2 separate regions of the Homo sapiens genome follow, and region 1 is linked to region 2. Evidence: promoter capture Hi-C in human tissues and cell types (Jung and others, 2019). All regions are on one chromosome and are shown on one strand. Each heading gives the region's core, a stretch centred on a gene start or on the middle of the fragment in contact. The rest is flanking DNA. Distances are from core to core; before and after follow the strand shown. Region 1 overlaps COL6A3 (collagen type VI alpha 3 chain). Region 2 holds the start of RAB17 (RAB17, member RAS oncogene family).

Region 1 (4,561 bases), core at 1,009-3,508, 190 kb before region 2:
ATAGTCAAGATAGTATGTTTTATGTTATATGGTTTTTACCACAATTAAAATAGAAATGAGGACAGGAAATATCATTTGCCAGGTTTTAAAAGCATGGGTAACTACCCCTAAAATGTAGCCATCAATTTAACAGGAATGATGTAAGTGCAGCATCTCTTTTTTGAGGTGTGATAGAGTTTAAGAGCTACTAGGAAAAAACAGTACAACTAAACATCCTAAAGTGTGTCTACATGCCGCTGTATTCAAATAACACAATGTTTGCCCTTACTTCTAAATAAGATTTGGAAAGAAATAAGAAAAGAGTATATGTCATGCAAAATGTTAGGGTTTGGCAAAGAAGATCAGAGTCTCATGAAAGTGGGAAAGAATCTAATATGAACATTCAGACCTGGTGCAAACATGGCTTCTGCCTTGACTAGTATCCTCTGAGCTTTGGAATCGGCTCCACCCAAGGCCTGAGCTTTTGTATCTCTATCTTAATCTTCCTCTCTCCACAGGTGCCCCCATGGGCTCTGCAAGTCTTCATGGTTGTCTGTTGTGTAGCACAGGAATTCCATTTTCCCCATACAGCTAATGAAATCAGGGATGAGGATGATCTAATGTTCTCAGCCTTGCCACCTGAAGATTGATAGCAGAGGAGAGTCTGTCCGGCTGATGAGTGATGTAACTTTGCCATGAATGGAGCAGCAGACTAGTGTCCAGATGGACCACTTAGCAAAGGTACAGGGAGAGCCACAGAGAGTGATTGAGGCTGCCAGTCAAGGACAGGAGCTAAGTGGGTGCAAAGGAAACCTGAAGCTCAGTCCCGTGGATTTGCCGTGAAATTCCTCCTGCCTGAGGTCAGGCCCAGAGGGAGAAGCTGGAGTCCAAATCTTGCGGCCCAGCTATGAGGAAGACGGAACACAGTGTGGGCCCTAGGCCTGACCCGCCAAAAATTGGTGAGATGGAGACAGATGAAGCCACAAACAAGGGAATGAACACCAGGACCCATGTGGCTTTGGATTTCCAAAGAAAGTCAACAAAAAGTACCACCTGTGATGAAACAAATGTACCCTGTGATTCAGATTCTGAGAACTTGAAGCCATGATCTCAGCAGCTAAAATAGAACCACCTGTCAATACAGCAGTCTCTTGGAAATGCATCAACAGTGAGAAAGGAATGCTGTTCTAATGATGCTCAGGAGGCCAGTTATCAACAGAACAGATATTTTTCTGCAACAAAGTGACAGCAATGAGTGGTGATAGCGGCAGTATTGCAAAAGCTCAGCCCGATTTTTTTTCCCTTGCAATGGTCACTGCCTTTTGGACATGGATATATGTTAACACAATGTAGAAGAGCAGTCTCCAGTGCTTGTGCTGTGGTTTGATAATGCTCCCAAGCTTTAGCCCGGTCGCAGCACAGCAGGGCTCAGGGACCCCCGACAGGCTGGACTGCCTGTTCTCCTCCCTCCACTTAGGTTGACCCTACCCCCACCGTGCCACAGCCCCAACTTTGCCCCTTCACTCTCTAGGAATCCCTCAAGCCCATGCAACCCTGGGAACCTTCCAGACTTTTCCACCAAGCTCTACCTTTCTTCCCTACAGTCTGTTAGACCCATTCCTGAGTGTTTCTTCAAATAAAAAAAAAAAGCAATTGCAATATCTAATTTTTTGTATGACCTCAATTAAATAATGATATACACTTCAGAATAATATAAAAGTACATTTTATATGTGCTATTCTTGATTCGTTCTATCAAGCTTGAGCGTCAATTTTTTTTTAGCAAAGGTAAGCTTCCTGCTAGATTCTTTCTAAGAAAATGGCCTGTTCTTTCCAAAACAACCTGTATTATTGTAACTGGTCCAGATCAATGTTTTAATACGGGATCAACAGATTCAAAGAGTCTATGATCCTCCCACAGTTGAGTGCAAAATTGCATCTATGGATGAGGGTTTTTCTGGAGATAAGGGTCCATGTTTGTATGTGATTCTAAAAGGCAGTTGTGCCACTCCTCACCCCCCAAAAGTTTAAGCATCACTGCTTCAATTAAAAATTTTAATGCAAATCTTCTGGAAGATCCAGTTCGATTACTTTAAATGTTTAATCCATGTTCAAGAGGCATGATTTTAAGTGGTATTTTTGTTTGTGAATGAGAACACAAGAGTATTATAGAGGCTCTTTGTAAAGCATTCGGCTTTGTAATCCAGGTGGAAAAAATAGGACATGATAAGATGAGAGCTGTCTCCTCACTGTTGAGTCTGGGATGGGAAGAGCTGCAGACACCTGTGCAGGGAGCATTGACAAAGAGCACAAGTGAATTATGCCTTGAGCAGGTTTTGCTAATGGTTTTCTTAATCATTCCCATACCTCACACAGTGAAAGCCTTTGAATCCACTGATTCTGTCACATATAAAGCATTGAGTGGGCTCACTCTGGAGCAATTCCAAAATTACATTTCTCATCTTCCAGAGTGCTCAATACAATCTAAATAGTTACAAAATAAAATCCGGGAAGTCTAAGACATCACTCACTTACTTCAACCATTCTGAGTAAAATGAACTTTTAGTTCATTGAAAATCATATGTAAAGATTTTTATTTTCAAGATGTGAATCTTTGGAGGAGTAGCCCCCTCAGTGGAGATACTTCCCATTGGAACACAAAGTAATGGGATAAATACACTGTGCACAGGAATTATTTTATCCAGAATATATCCAGATATTGAGGGAAGAGGAGGGGAGGGAAGAGAAGGAAAGGAGCCCTTCCAGCTCTGAAAAGGACGGGAGATAATGCCTGTAGGACAATGCGTTATCCAGGCTCCACTGATGATTCAGAACCCATATGGTTTGACTGAGCTGAATTCCCAGGTGGGAAAAACGCCTTTGGCCCCACACACTTTCCTGCCATCATGCGGGAAGCAGGTCTTGTGGCTCGTGGGCTCCTAGCCCAGCTGTTGAATATTTGCTGATATTTTCGTTTGCAATTAACTCTCTTCTATTGTTTGTCATGTCCTGGAGTCTCCATTTATAAAAAAACGAAATTCCCTGGCAGCAAATTTTGGAGAACTTTTTCATTTAGATTATTAAAAGATGTCAAACACCATCTCACCAGATGACCACCCGCCCTCTTCAACAAGAGGGAATGAGGCAGCCATCCGCGCTCATTCCCCGACACCACCCTCCCGGAGGAAGGAGAGAGGAGAGTGCTGGTAACGTTTCCTGGGCTTCTGTCTTGTGGGTGGGATTTCACGCCCTCCTCCCAACCATCCGATGGCTGATTTCCCTCCATTTTATAGCTGAGAAATTGAAACCCCAGCAAGGCAAAGTGATTGTTCAAAGCTACATAGATAAAAACAACATAGAACCAGAACCCTAACCCAAGTTAGCATTTCCAAAGCTCATGGGAAGAACCCCGGGAAACCCTAGAGGCTGTGCCAGATTTGGCCCAGATCTCAAGGAAACTCCCCATGCCTTTTGGGGAAAAAATAGACTTCCTTGGTGGTGACACACCACAGATTCTATGTCAATGGAAGTCGGCTGTCTACTATCATTCTTTCAAATATGAAAAAAAGACTCAGAATTGGCTGCTTGAGATCCTTGGGCTGGAAGGGGTCTGTTCCTTCATCCTAGATTCTGTGTCCTAAAGGAAACAGATTCAATAAGAGACATTCATCACATTTTCATTCTCATCTTTCTGTTTAGGATTATTCATCTTTTTGTTTACTCTGCCTCATTCTAAAAAGGATTTGAGGTGCCTTTTTCCGTTTAGTTTCTATCCCTTTGAAATTTAAAAGGATACCTTTCATCAGAAAGATTGCCCTACATGGCCCTTCAACCTGAAATCATATTCAATCATATTCCAATGAATATGATTTCCCAAGCTATTTTGCAATTCTGTAAATTAGTTTTCATTTAGCCTACTCAAAACCTTTTTCATTTTCCATGTCTGGAAATCTTTTTTAAGAAAGAGACACACACGCATGCACACAAGGAAATAGTTTGAAAACAAAGACTCAAATAAATCCAGAGCTTCCATTTTGAAGTCATTTATTTGGTTTTCTCCAAGCACTGCTTTTTAAAATCAGCCTGTCCCTCCTATCAAGTTCTGGGACTTCTGTTAGTTCCTAATTGTCCTGTTTAAAATGGGAGCAGTGGAAATAGTCAAAGACCACAGTGGGAGAGCCGTGCACACTGACTGTGAAATAGAAAGTCAAATTTCAGTAAATTTGAGGCACTCATCCACCCTTGCCTTTGCCACGCCCATTCCTAGACTGCAAGAAGGAGCGCCCCATTTCTTTCTCTTTTTCTCACTCTTTCTCTCTCTTTTTGCACGAATCCTGGGAAAGGAGTCCCCGTTCTTTTCCTCAGGGAGGAAGCTAAGAAAGGATTTATTAAGTCCTGCAATTAGGGTAGGAGGAGAGTGGAATTTAATATGCTCTTGGTGTTTGAAAGACCCAAAGGAGAATCCTCAAAAGAAAATGTTTTGGAAGAGCTCCAAGAAACCTCCAAAGAAATATAGCAAATTTTGTTTTTTTACTGTTTATTTAACAACTTGGATTTCACATTTCTTTCTTTTTTCCCTTTTT
Region 2 (2,700 bases), core at 201-2,700:
ACTCCACCCCCGTAATACAACCACAAATGGTATTTTTGCCTACTTCTAGTTTTTTTCTATGACTCCTAAAAACAAACCAAAACCCATAGTTTTAACATAAAATTATTATCCGATGGGTAAGAAATACTTAATACCAAAGGCAGTCTCACACATTGCTTCAAAATCATGTTTAATGGACATATAACATTTCTACAACTATCTCAACTTGCTGAACCATTTTCCTAATACTGGATTTTTACTTAGTTTTAATTTTTTCTCTGTAATAAGACTGCAGTAAACATTTTCTTATATAACTTTTTGTGTGATTGAGTGTTGTAAGCTTTCAATAATGAGAGGTTGGAGCCTTCTGTCCAAAGAGAAAATTAAAAGTGTGGCACCTGACCCCCACCTCCAGAATTTAATCAAGATGGGGTTATTAGTAGTGAAAGATGTTATTAGGTTGTTGAAGACAAAGATGTTTTCAGGAACACCATATTCAAGACTGGCGCTTCTCTAGTAATCTTAACTTGGGGCTTTTTAATCTCTTGCACCTCCCTTCCACTAAAGGGAAAAAAAACGGAGAGCAAATCCCACATTAGTCTTTTTTGCGGGGAAGGGGCCATTCCAGGGAAGGGTCTGATTGATGAGTCTATCGGCAACTGTGATCCTGTGTCACCCTTGCCTGGGGCCTGTGAAGAATATTGAGATTACGAGAGGTACACCTGTACATTGCATTCAGAATACAGCCATCTGATACAGAAAACACAATGTAGATTGTAAAAAGGAGTTTACAAGAAAACCTGACAAGCTTCCTAGATATCACTGGGTATTAAATTGGGAATGTTGATGTCATTTGAAATGGATTTCTTTAAGAGTTCTTCTCATTACCAGAAGTTTTTTGTGTTTTTTTTTTTCAAGACCTTAAAACCGGAACTTTCCCGAAGAAAAATGCAAATAAGAATCTCCTTCTGGGAATCCGACTTAGTGAGCCATCAGAAATCTGAACTAGGAAGTCTCCGCCCCAGCTTTGTCCTTTGATTATACACACATGGGCACATGCACAGACACAAACAAATACAGACATGGGTACAAACACGTGAGCACACACACAGACACACAGAGACTCACACACAGAGAAGCAGAGACACACACACACACAGGCAGACACTCCACAAAGGGCACAGAGGTTTAAACAATGACTCACCTGTTCCCCAGGCCCGGTCACTTGCAGGGAGCTGAAGAGCCTGTCATCACCAGTCCACAGCGTTGCTACCTGTCTCCGCTTTCTCCTCTCTCTGGTCCAGGGGAAGGTTTGCTTCCCTCCACAGGCAGGACAGGACAGGAGGAGCCTCTACTCCAATGGAAAACAGCCGCAGAGCAGAGGTCAAGAGCAGCAGCCTCGGACCAGAGCAATGCCCACTGGACCCCAGCGCCAAGGTCAGGCCTCTTCTCCTCCCAGAAGGTTTCAGGGCAAAGTCCACAGTGGTCATGTGGTCACCTGAGGCAGGGCAGGAGGCTGGACCTCAAAGCAGGTGACCCGGGAGCACCTGCGCGCTGCCGGAAGTCAAGTCACATTCCAGTCCTGCATTTCCTGGCACCCAACTGGAGCCCGTTTTTCAGCTTTATTCCGGGGTTTCACTTCCAGGATCTCACTTTGGCACAGAATGTTTTTCTTGGCTCCTTCCTTGGAGCTGTATGGAATCTTTGTTGCACTTGAAAAACCAACAGCCCAGAAGAGAAAAGAATATTCCGGTCAGATGAATTAATTCCTCCCACTGTCAGCTAGAAGCCATCCCTGGCTGAGCCCTGCACTGGCCAGAGGCAACTGAGTGTGAGCCAGTCCAGGGTCAGATCCTGGGCTGATGCCACCTGAGGGCGGGGTGGGGGCGTGGCCTCCGTGCACATGGGAGACTCCAGGTGCAGGAGAGGGGGAGGTGGACTTCCTCTTGGTCTTCCCAAGCCATGAAACTTCCTGGCTTGGTGGTAACAGAAGAGTCTCCTCCAGGTAAGATTTCCAGAGCCTCTGAGTATGGCTGGGGTAGCAGGGTTGGGCCTGAGGCTGAGGAGATGGAAATCTGTTGCCGTGAACATTACTCCACACAGCCAGTATACGGGAAGCCAGCTCACTTTATGTCCTCCAAACTCACCCTAACTTCTCGTTTGGGTCTCATCCCGCGGGGCTGCTGGGAAATAAGCTCCGCCACCACAGTGGTTCCTCCGCCCTGTGGGAGTGGGGGGCTCTTATGCTGGAGGGGGGACACTGGCCTGGACTTCTGCTGAGGCTCTGCCCCTCATCCCTGCAGGACGGACTAGCCAGTCCTAACACAGGACTAGCGTTGCTCTACCACGTCCAAGCCTCCTCTGAGATTCTTCCTCCATGCAACCACTTCCCCTGGGGCGTGGCCACCTCCCTGGAAGCCGCCAGCATGCTCGGCTGGGCCCCCGCACTCTGGAGGCTTGAGAATCTCTCTATTTTTGAATGACGTCCTTATCCTCTGCCCCCAGGCTGGTAACCAAAGGTCTGGGGGTGGTGACGTGCTGGGAATGGTGTAACTCGTGAGATGGAGGCTGAATGTGGAAATACATGAATGTGCTTCTCTTCTCTCCAGTTCCCTTGAAGAATCCACCTTCCTGCAGGGTTGGGGGAGCGCAGAATGGGAGGAAGATACAAATACCAATTTTATAGCAAGAATGCAAAAAGAGGCCAGCGCGGTGGCTCGA

Evidence for each region. Contacts are between HindIII fragments. The study calls those that stand out against the background at their distance.
Region 1: a contact is called between a fragment that was not itself captured here and the fragment with the promoter of RAB17 in region 2, in 2 of the 25 tissues and cell types used here (IMR-90 fibroblasts and aorta).

What each region holds. Positions count from the first base shown.
Region 1 is chr2:237,402,352-237,406,912 of GRCh38, forward strand. All of the region lies in intron 1 of COL6A3 (collagen type VI alpha 3 chain), which reads right to left. Among named protein-coding and RNA genes, the nearest start is that of COL6A3, 9.5 kb to the right of the region's middle. The HindIII fragment of the contact is 6,379 bases long and covers 1-4,561 here.
Region 2 is chr2:237,589,284-237,591,983 of GRCh38, forward strand. It overlaps RAB17 (RAB17, member RAS oncogene family), which reads right to left and starts at 1,451. Exons shown (of 6, transcript NM_022449.4): 1 at 1,184-1,451. RAB17-DT (RAB17 divergent transcript) reads left to right here and starts at 1,877. Exons shown (of 3, transcript NR_187201.1): 1 at 1,877-1,984; 2 at 2,589-2,700. The HindIII fragment of the contact is 5,809 bases long and covers 554-2,700 here.